Regions from separate parts of the Homo sapiens genome. Here regions 2 and 3 are each linked to region 1. Evidence: promoter capture Hi-C in 16 types of primary human blood cells and fetal thymus (Javierre and others, 2016). All regions are on one chromosome and are shown on one strand. Each heading gives the region's core, a stretch centred on a gene start or on the middle of the fragment in contact. The rest is flanking DNA. Distances are from core to core; before and after follow the strand shown.

Region 1 (2,616 bases), core at 56-2,555:
AGCCAGGATGGTCTGGATCTCCCGACCTCGTGATGTGATCTGCCCGCCTCAGCCTCCCAAAATGCTGGGATTACAGGTGTGAGCCACTGCGCCCAGCCTATTTTTTATTTATTTATTTATTTATTTTTGAGACAAAGTCTGGCTCTGTTGCCCAGGCTGGAGTGCAATGGCATGATCTCAGCTCACTGCAACCTCCACCTCCCAGGTTCAAGCCATCCTCCCACCTCAGCCTCCGAGTAGCTGGGATTACAGATGCACACCACCATGCTTGGCTACTTTTTTTGGGGGGTTTTTTGTTTTTGTTTTTTAAGAGAGAGTCTTGCTCTGTCACCCAGGCTGGAGTGGAGTGGCCCAATCTTGGCTCACTGCAACCTCCACCTGCCAGGTCCAAGTGATTCTCCTGCCTCAGCCTCCTGAGTAGCTAGGATTACTGGCACCCGCCACCACACCTGGCTAATTTTTTGTATTTTTAATAGAGACGGGGTTTCACCATGTTGGCCAGGCTGGTCTCGAACTCCTGACCTCAGGTGATCCACCCACCTCGGCCTCCCAAAGTGCTGGGATTACAGGCGTGAGCCACGGAGCCCAGCAACAGCAGGCTATTAATAGTTAAATTTTGGGGTAGTCAAAAGTTATATAGGGATTTTCGGCTGACTGCACAGGGTTTCTCGCCCATAATTCCCGCTTTGTTCAGGGGTCAACAGGTTTTTTGTTTGTTTGTTTGTTTTTAGGATCTGTCACACATGCTGAAGTGCAATGGCACTATTATAGCTCACTGTAACCTTGAACTCCTGGGGTCAAGTGATCCTCCTGGCTTAGCCTCCCAGAACGCTGGAATTACAGGCATGAGCCACTGCTCTCAGCCTCAATATTTAAAAAAGTAATTCTTTCATTAATAAAATTATCCCAACTTTTTAATACTCATGCAAACATATGCATAGAGTTGTTTCTTGTAAGTTGAACAAGGTTTAATTTGCACACTTGTTTAACCTGAACATACTGTATTATATGTTCTGCAACTTGCTTCTTCCTCCTAACAATAAATCATGGATGTCTATCTCTTCTTGGTATTCTCATTTGACGATTCTTTGTCCTTGTACCTGCGTGACTCTTGGAGCTCCAGCTTTCTGCCTGCCTTTCCTCCTCCCGGGGTTTTCCTCCTCCTCGCCTGGCCTCGCAGGGTGCCTGGCCGCGGGAGATCTTCGCCGATGGGTGGGGTCCGGGGCCGCCTGAAACATGTAGATGAGATGGGCGGGGCCCTACACAAACCCGCTGGTAGCGCTGGGCCGACTCGCCCAGCCTGGACCCATTCAGTCAGAGGCAGCCAGCGGGACCTGCTTCACCGAGCGCAGCGAAGCCGAGACCCGGGCTGGCCCCTCTGCTGCCCCCGGAGCGGGCCATGCCGCCGCGGGAGCTGAGCGAGGCCGAGCCGCCCCCGCTCCGGGCCCCGACCCCTCCCCCGCGGCGGCGTAGCGCGCCCCCAGAGCTGGGCATCAAGTGCGTGCTGGTGGGCGACGGCGCCGTGGGCAAGAGCAGCCTCATCGTCAGCTACACCTGCAATGGGTACCCCGCGCGCTACCGGCCCACTGCGCTGGACACCTTCTCTGGTACGTACGTTCAATCGCCCGTGCGGCCGCGTGGCTGCGGCGGGGCTGTGCACCGGGGAGCTGGGGCGGGCGTCTCGGCGGGAGGGCGCAGAGGACCCCGGGGAGGAGACTGGAGCAGGCCCCGAGGTGGCGCTGGTGCGGCCCAGGACGCTCTTCCTAACTCAGGCTCTCCCCGCCCCGCCCCTGCAGTGCAAGTCCTGGTGGATGGAGCTCCGGTGCGCATTGAGCTCTGGGACACAGCGGGACAGGTGAGAAGCTGGGCGCGGCCTCTACTGGTCTGCGGGGAGATGGGCTGGAGGCTGGGAGGACCCCATATGGAGCAAATGGAGAAAGCCTTGGGCTCTTGGAGTCTCAGGTTTCCAGCCCCGGGTGAGAAATGGATTCCATGTGTCGGGGGGCTAATCCTTACCACCTGGCCTTCCCACCCCAGGAGGATTTTGACCGACTTCGTTCCCTTTGCTACCCGGATACCGATGTCTTCCTGGCGTGCTTCAGCGTGGTGCAGCCCAGCTCCTTTCAAAACATCACAGAGAAATGGCTGCCCGAGATCCGCACGCACAACCCCCAGGCGCCTGTGCTGCTGGTGGGCACCCAGGCCGACCTGAGGGACGATGTCAACGTACTAATTCAGCTGGACCAGGGGGGCCGGGAGGGCCCCGTGCCCCAACCCCAGGCTCAGGGTCTGGCCGAGAAGATCCGAGCCTGCTGCTACCTTGAGTGCTCAGCCTTGACGCAGAAGAACTTGAAGGAAGTATTTGACTCGGCTATTCTCAGTGCCATTGAGCACAAAGCCCGGCTGGAGAAGAAACTGAATGCCAAAGGTGTGCGCACCCTCTCCCGCTGCCGCTGGAAGAAGTTCTTCTGCTTCGTTTGAGCAGCTATGGCTGCATAGCAAGTAGTAGGCAGGAGGCCAAAGACTTCTGAGACCTGGGGCACCCGGGCCTTTGCGGCAGCTACTGGCAGGGCCTGGCCACCTCATAGGACTCAGTTCCCTTCTGAACACTCGGGG
Region 2 (2,616 bases), core at 43-2,542, 220 kb after region 1:
TGGAGTACCATGGCGTGATCTTGGCTCACTGCAACCTCTGCCTTCCCAGTTCAAGCAATTCTCCTGCCTCAGCCTCCTGAGTAGCTGGGATTACAGGCGTCTGCCACCATACCCGGCTACTTTTTGTATTTTTAGTAGAGAGGGGGCTTCACCATTTTGGACAGACTGCTCTTGAACTCCTGATGTCAGGTAATCCACCCGCCTTGGCCTCCCAAAGTGCTGGGATTACAGGCATGAGCCACCATGCCCAGATGTATTCTCTCCATTTTTATTTTCAAACATGATTATAACATGTATGGTGAAGATAGGACATTTCTACAAAAACTCAAGACTTTATCACATATAGAAACAGTACTTGAGTAAGAGTGTGGGTTTACATGTAACACAGACCTGAGTTTAAATCCTGGATTTCATTTCTTTTTTTGAGACGGAGTGTCACTCTATTGCCCAGGCTGGAGTGCAGTGGCATGATCTCAGCTCACTGCAACCTCCGCCTCCCGGATTCAGGCAATTCTCCTGCCTCAGCCTCCCGAGTAGCTGGGACTACAGGCACACACCACAATGCCCAGCTAATTTCTTCGTATTTTTAGTAGAGACAGGGTTTCACTATGTTGGCCAGGCTGGTCTTGAACTCCTGACCTCCAGTGATCCGCCCGCCTTGGTCTCCCAAAGTGCTGGGATTACAGGTGTGAGCCACGGCACCCAGCAATCCTGGCTTTCTTTAATACCTAAGTGATCCTAGACACAATACTTAAGTTTTTTGATCTGTAGTTTCCTAATTTGTAAAATGGGGAACAAATCGCATGGACTTCATAGTGTTAATTTAAGTAATACACATGCCTGATACAGACTAAGTGCTCATAACAGTAATTTTTAAATTATGAAAATAGCTACTATTAATCATTGCTCAAGACCCAGTAATAATTTTTTTTTTTTTTTTTGAGACGGAGTCTCATTTTGTCGCCCAGGCTGGAATGCAGTGGCGCGATCTCGGCTCACTGCAAGCTCCGCCTCCCGGGTTCACGCCATTCTCCTGCCTCAGCCTCCCAAGTAGCTGGGACTACAGGCGCCAGCCACCACGCCCGGCTAATTTTTTTGTATTTTTTAGTAGAGACGGGGTTTCACCGTGTTAGCCAGGATAGTCTCGATCTCCTGACCTTGTAATCCGTCCGCCTAGGCCTCCCAGAGTGCTGGGATTACAGGCGTGAGCCACCATGCCCGGCATGTAATAATTTTTTTTAAATCTTTTTTTTTTTTTTTTTTTTTGAGATGGAGCCTTGCTCTGTCACCCAGCTTGAAGTGCAGTGGCGCAATCTCGGCTCACTGCAACCTCCGTCTCCCAGGTTCAAGCGATTCTCCTGCCTCAGACTCCTGAGTAGCTGGGATTACAGGCACCCATCACCGCGCCCAACTAATTTCTGTATTTTTAGTAGAGATGGGTTTCATCATGTTGGCCAGGCTGGTCTCGAGCCTCTGACCTTGTGATCTGCCTTCCTCGGCCTCCCAAAGTGCTGGGATTACAAGCATGAGCCACCGTGCCCAGCCTTATTTTTTATTTTTGAGACAAGGTCTCACTCTGTTGCCAGGCTGGACTGCAGTGGCATAATCTTGGCTCACCACAACCTCCACCTCCCAGGTTCAAGTGATTCTCCTGTCTCAGCCTCCTGAGTAGCTAGGGCTACAGGAGGGCACCATCACACCCGGCTAGTTTTTGTATTTTTAGCAGAGACGGGGTTTCACCATGTTAGTCAGGCTGGTCTCAAACTCCTGACCCCTGGTGATCCACCCGCCTCAGCCTCCCAAAGTGCTGGGATTAAAGGCATGAGCCATAGTGCCCAGCCCCAACAAATTTTTAGAGGCTTAAATGTTTTCTACTTACCATCTAACAGAGATTGAAAATTGACATCAACAATCTTCCTATAACGCTTGTCCAGGAAAGGGAAACCAACTAGAAAGAACCAGAATAATGATTTTTAAAAATTTTTTTAGACAGAGAGTCTCACTTTGTCTCCCAGGCTGGAGTGCAATGGCGCAGTCTTGGCCCACTGCAAGCTCAGCCTCCCAGGTTCAAGCGATTCTCCTGCCTCAGCCTCCTGAGTAGCTGGGACTACAGGCGCCCGCCACCACACCTGGCTAATTTTTTGTACTTTTAGTAGACACGGGGTTTCACCATGTTAGCCAGGATGGTCTCGATCTCCTGACCTCGTGATCCGCCTACCTCAGCTTCCCAAAGTGCTGGGATTACAGGCATGAGCCACCGTGCCTGGCCTTTTTTTTTTTTTTAAACTACCTGATTTGAAGTCACATAAAACTCAGTACTTTAGAATCCTACTCCTTCTGTGTAGCAGAGTTTTTTCCACAGGAAGTTGAAGGGTTATCCTTGAATCATTATTCTCTGTATCTAGTAAAGGCTCCCCTGAGACTGTTCAACTACATTGATTGGTATGTCTTTGAAGGACATTTAAAAGGTAGTACACAGCTATATTTGTTAAGGCCTCCTCTTTTAACCCCTAACTTCTGTGCAAAGATAATTTTATTTTCAGCAATCATATAAGGAAAATGGCTATCATCTCTCTACAACTCCTATCATTGTATAAATACAGTAAAAATGAGTTA
Region 3 (2,616 bases), core at 32-2,531, 170 kb after region 1:
CAGAATTTTATCAGCTTTGGCTTCACTAATTCCCTTAATATTTATTAGCTCCTTCTTTGGCGCATAGGCAACAGCCTCCACAGTATGGAATCCAGCTTCTTCCAATTTCTTCACATCGTTGGCATTTATGCCACACTGCTGCAAATGAAGAAAACCATGGATAAATTTAAGCTTTAGTTCTCTAATCTAACACAGATGTTATGTGTCCTACATACTTCACAGAGGTGCTTGAAGACTTGTAATACAACTGTCCCTTGAAATCCTTGGGGGGGCGGGGGGAGATGGGAAGTTGGTTCCAGGACCCCCAGCAGATAACAAAATCCAACAATGCTCAAGTCCCTTATATAAAATGGCGTATTACCTGCATATAACCTATGTACATCCTCCTGTATACTTTTTTTTGATATGTAGTTGATTGAATTTTTGATACGTAGTTTGTTGAATTTGCTGATACAGAATCCGGAGATACAGAGAGCCTACTGTTATTATATGCAAAAGCTGAAAAATGAGCCCTATATATGAGGTACTTAATAACAAATTAACAACCTTTTCATTATCAAAATCAATAATTTTAAACTAGCACTAAGCCATGTACATTAAAAAGAACTCCTATTAGCAATTGGAATTAAAAAGTAACTCCCAACCTTTTTTTGTGACCCTAAATGATCTCTGAGACCTTGGGCCCTACAAGACCACTTTAAGACAGTGTTGCTCAACACTTTCCACATCAAGCACACATAAAAAACTGTATTTTTACACTATGGTAGGGTAAATAGATAAGGCTGCTCAGAATATAAAGAGCACTATCTTGGCCTGTCAATACTTTTTGTTGAACAATGACCAGAAAGCTCTGCTCTAACAACTGACATTAACAGTGAGGAAAACTACTTTTTGTCAGGGACTTTTATACCTCTTCTCAAAACAAACCACCCAAAGACACCTCTTTCTTCCTATATTCAAGTCAGCTTTGGTTTCATTAGCCACCAAAACCATGACTTCTGGGAAAACATGAGTTAGTAGGTGAATGTGGGTGCATTCAGGGGTTGGGAGAATTTAGAAGAGGGGAGAGATTAGTTTGCCAACATAAGCCATGTCTGCTATTAATATTTAAGCAATATGCATGTTTGAGTATAAGGATGCTCATGGCACCAGAAGTTATGACTCTGAACTTTCAAATGTTTATCACAAATCCATTTAAGTAACTTCTAGAGTCTTTTTTTTTTATTAGCCTTTTGCACTCCTAACTTCTAGAGTCTTGAAGATTAGTCAGAGATGGGAAATATGAAAAAAAGAGACAGAAGAATCAAGTCTTTCTCTGCTTTCCTCCTACTTAGCCCAAATCAGCTGCACTCACAGGGCAGTCTCTATACAATGGGCAGAAATAGTGTAAGGCCTCAGCTCTGGTGCTTAATGTTCTTGTGCAGAATCCTGAATTGGAGCTTGTCTCTTATACCATAACACCACCACACCCTTCTCTCTGCCAATGACAGCTGACAGCACAAATCTAGGTTAATGGAGAGAAGGTGCTTCCCTGTCTTCCTTGCATAACTGGTCCAGGCCGCTATAATTCCCAGAACAGCACTTTCATACTTAGTGCAAATAGCACAGGATGCTTTGGCCAGGCATGGTGGCTCATGCCTGTAATCCTAGCAGTTTGGGACGCCAAGGCAGGTGGACTGCTTGAGGCCAGGAGTTCAAGATCAACATGGTCAACACAGTTAAGACCCATTTCTTAAAAAACAAACAAAAAAACAGCACAGGCTGGGCGCAGTGGCCCATGCCTGTAATCCCAGCACTTTGGGAGGCCAAAGAGGGTGGATCACCTGAGGTCAGGAGTTCGAGACTAGCCTGACCAACATGGAGAAACCCTGTCTCTACTAAAAATATAAAATTAGCTGGGTGTGGTGGCTCATGCCTGTAATTCCAGCTACTTGGGAGGCTGAGGCAGGAGAATCGCTTGAACCTGGGACGCAGAGGTTGCGGTGAGCCGAGATCACGCCATTGCACTCCAGCCTGGGCAACAAGAGCGAAACTCCATCAAAAACAAACAAACAAACAAACAAAAACAGCACAGAGATTCCACCATGGGATCCTAGGCCTTAGTTTCTGACAGTCCAACTCTCAGAAATAAAAATGATAAAGTAGGAAGAGAATTGTTGACAAAGGAAGAGGCCCTGCCAGACATATTTAGCAATGATCTGCAGCCTTTCCACAGGATTATTGACAACACTTCTGAAAAGTCTAATTTGGGTCTTGACCTTGGTAGTAAACCTATATTTTATGTAAAGGTTGTAATACCTTCCACTAGGTAGAAGAATCTAGTATATAATTCCAAAATTAGCAACTAACCACATACCTCTAACCGTGAAATGGGTTGTGGGCCAAAGCTTTCTTCTTCCACTGAAGTATCTGCATTTGCTTCAAGCTGCATCTGCATTGCCATTACTGAAAAATACAAATGCTTATCAGTATAAACACTAGAGAAATAAGGTGCATCTCTCTCCCCATCTTCTATCTAGCTAGTCGTATCAAAAAGACTTTAGGAAAAGCCAAGGCCATTCTCTTATTGTGCCTCTCTGTTCTCCTGCTTTATATTCCTTCAGTGTAGGGGCCAAG

Evidence for each region. The method cuts DNA at HindIII sites, captures the fragments that hold promoters and counts their contacts. A CHiCAGO score of 5 or more calls a contact.
Region 2: a contact is called between a fragment that was not itself captured here and the fragment with the promoter of RHOV in region 1, in 1 of 17 cell types (M0 macrophages). The highest score is 5.6, in M0 macrophages.
Region 3: a fragment that was not itself captured here is called in contact with the fragment with the promoter of RHOV in region 1 in 2 of 17 cell types (M0 macrophages and M1 macrophages); the score reaches 6.5 in M0 macrophages.

What each region holds. Positions count from the first base shown.
Region 1 is chr15:40,872,923-40,875,538 of GRCh38, reverse strand. RHOV (ras homolog family member V) reads left to right here and starts at 1,305. Exons shown (of 3, transcript NM_133639.4): 1 at 1,305-1,607; 2 at 1,797-1,855; 3 at 2,038-2,616. The coding sequence starts at 1,400. The coding sequence ends at 2,481. It overlaps LOC124903475 (a long non-coding RNA gene), which reads right to left and starts at 1,797. Exons shown (of 2, transcript XR_007064600.1): 1 at 1,616-1,797; 2 at 951-1,229. RefSeq lists a silencer at 1,251-1,770. The HindIII fragment of the contact is 13,617 bases long and covers 1-2,616 here.
Region 2 is chr15:40,654,241-40,656,856 of GRCh38, reverse strand. KNL1 (kinetochore scaffold 1) reads right to left here. Exons shown (of 26, transcript NM_144508.5): 22 at 1,880-1,948. Among named protein-coding and RNA genes, the nearest start is that of RAD51-AS1, 40 kb to the left of the region's middle. The HindIII fragment of the contact is 3,025 bases long and covers 1-2,616 here.
Region 3 is chr15:40,698,586-40,701,201 of GRCh38, reverse strand. RAD51 (RAD51 recombinase) reads right to left here. Exons shown (of 10, transcript NM_002875.5): 2 at 2,357-2,445; 3 at 1-138. The coding sequence starts at 2,443. Among named protein-coding and RNA genes, the nearest start is that of RAD51, 4.7 kb to the right of the region's middle. The HindIII fragment of the contact is 2,216 bases long and covers 174-2,389 here.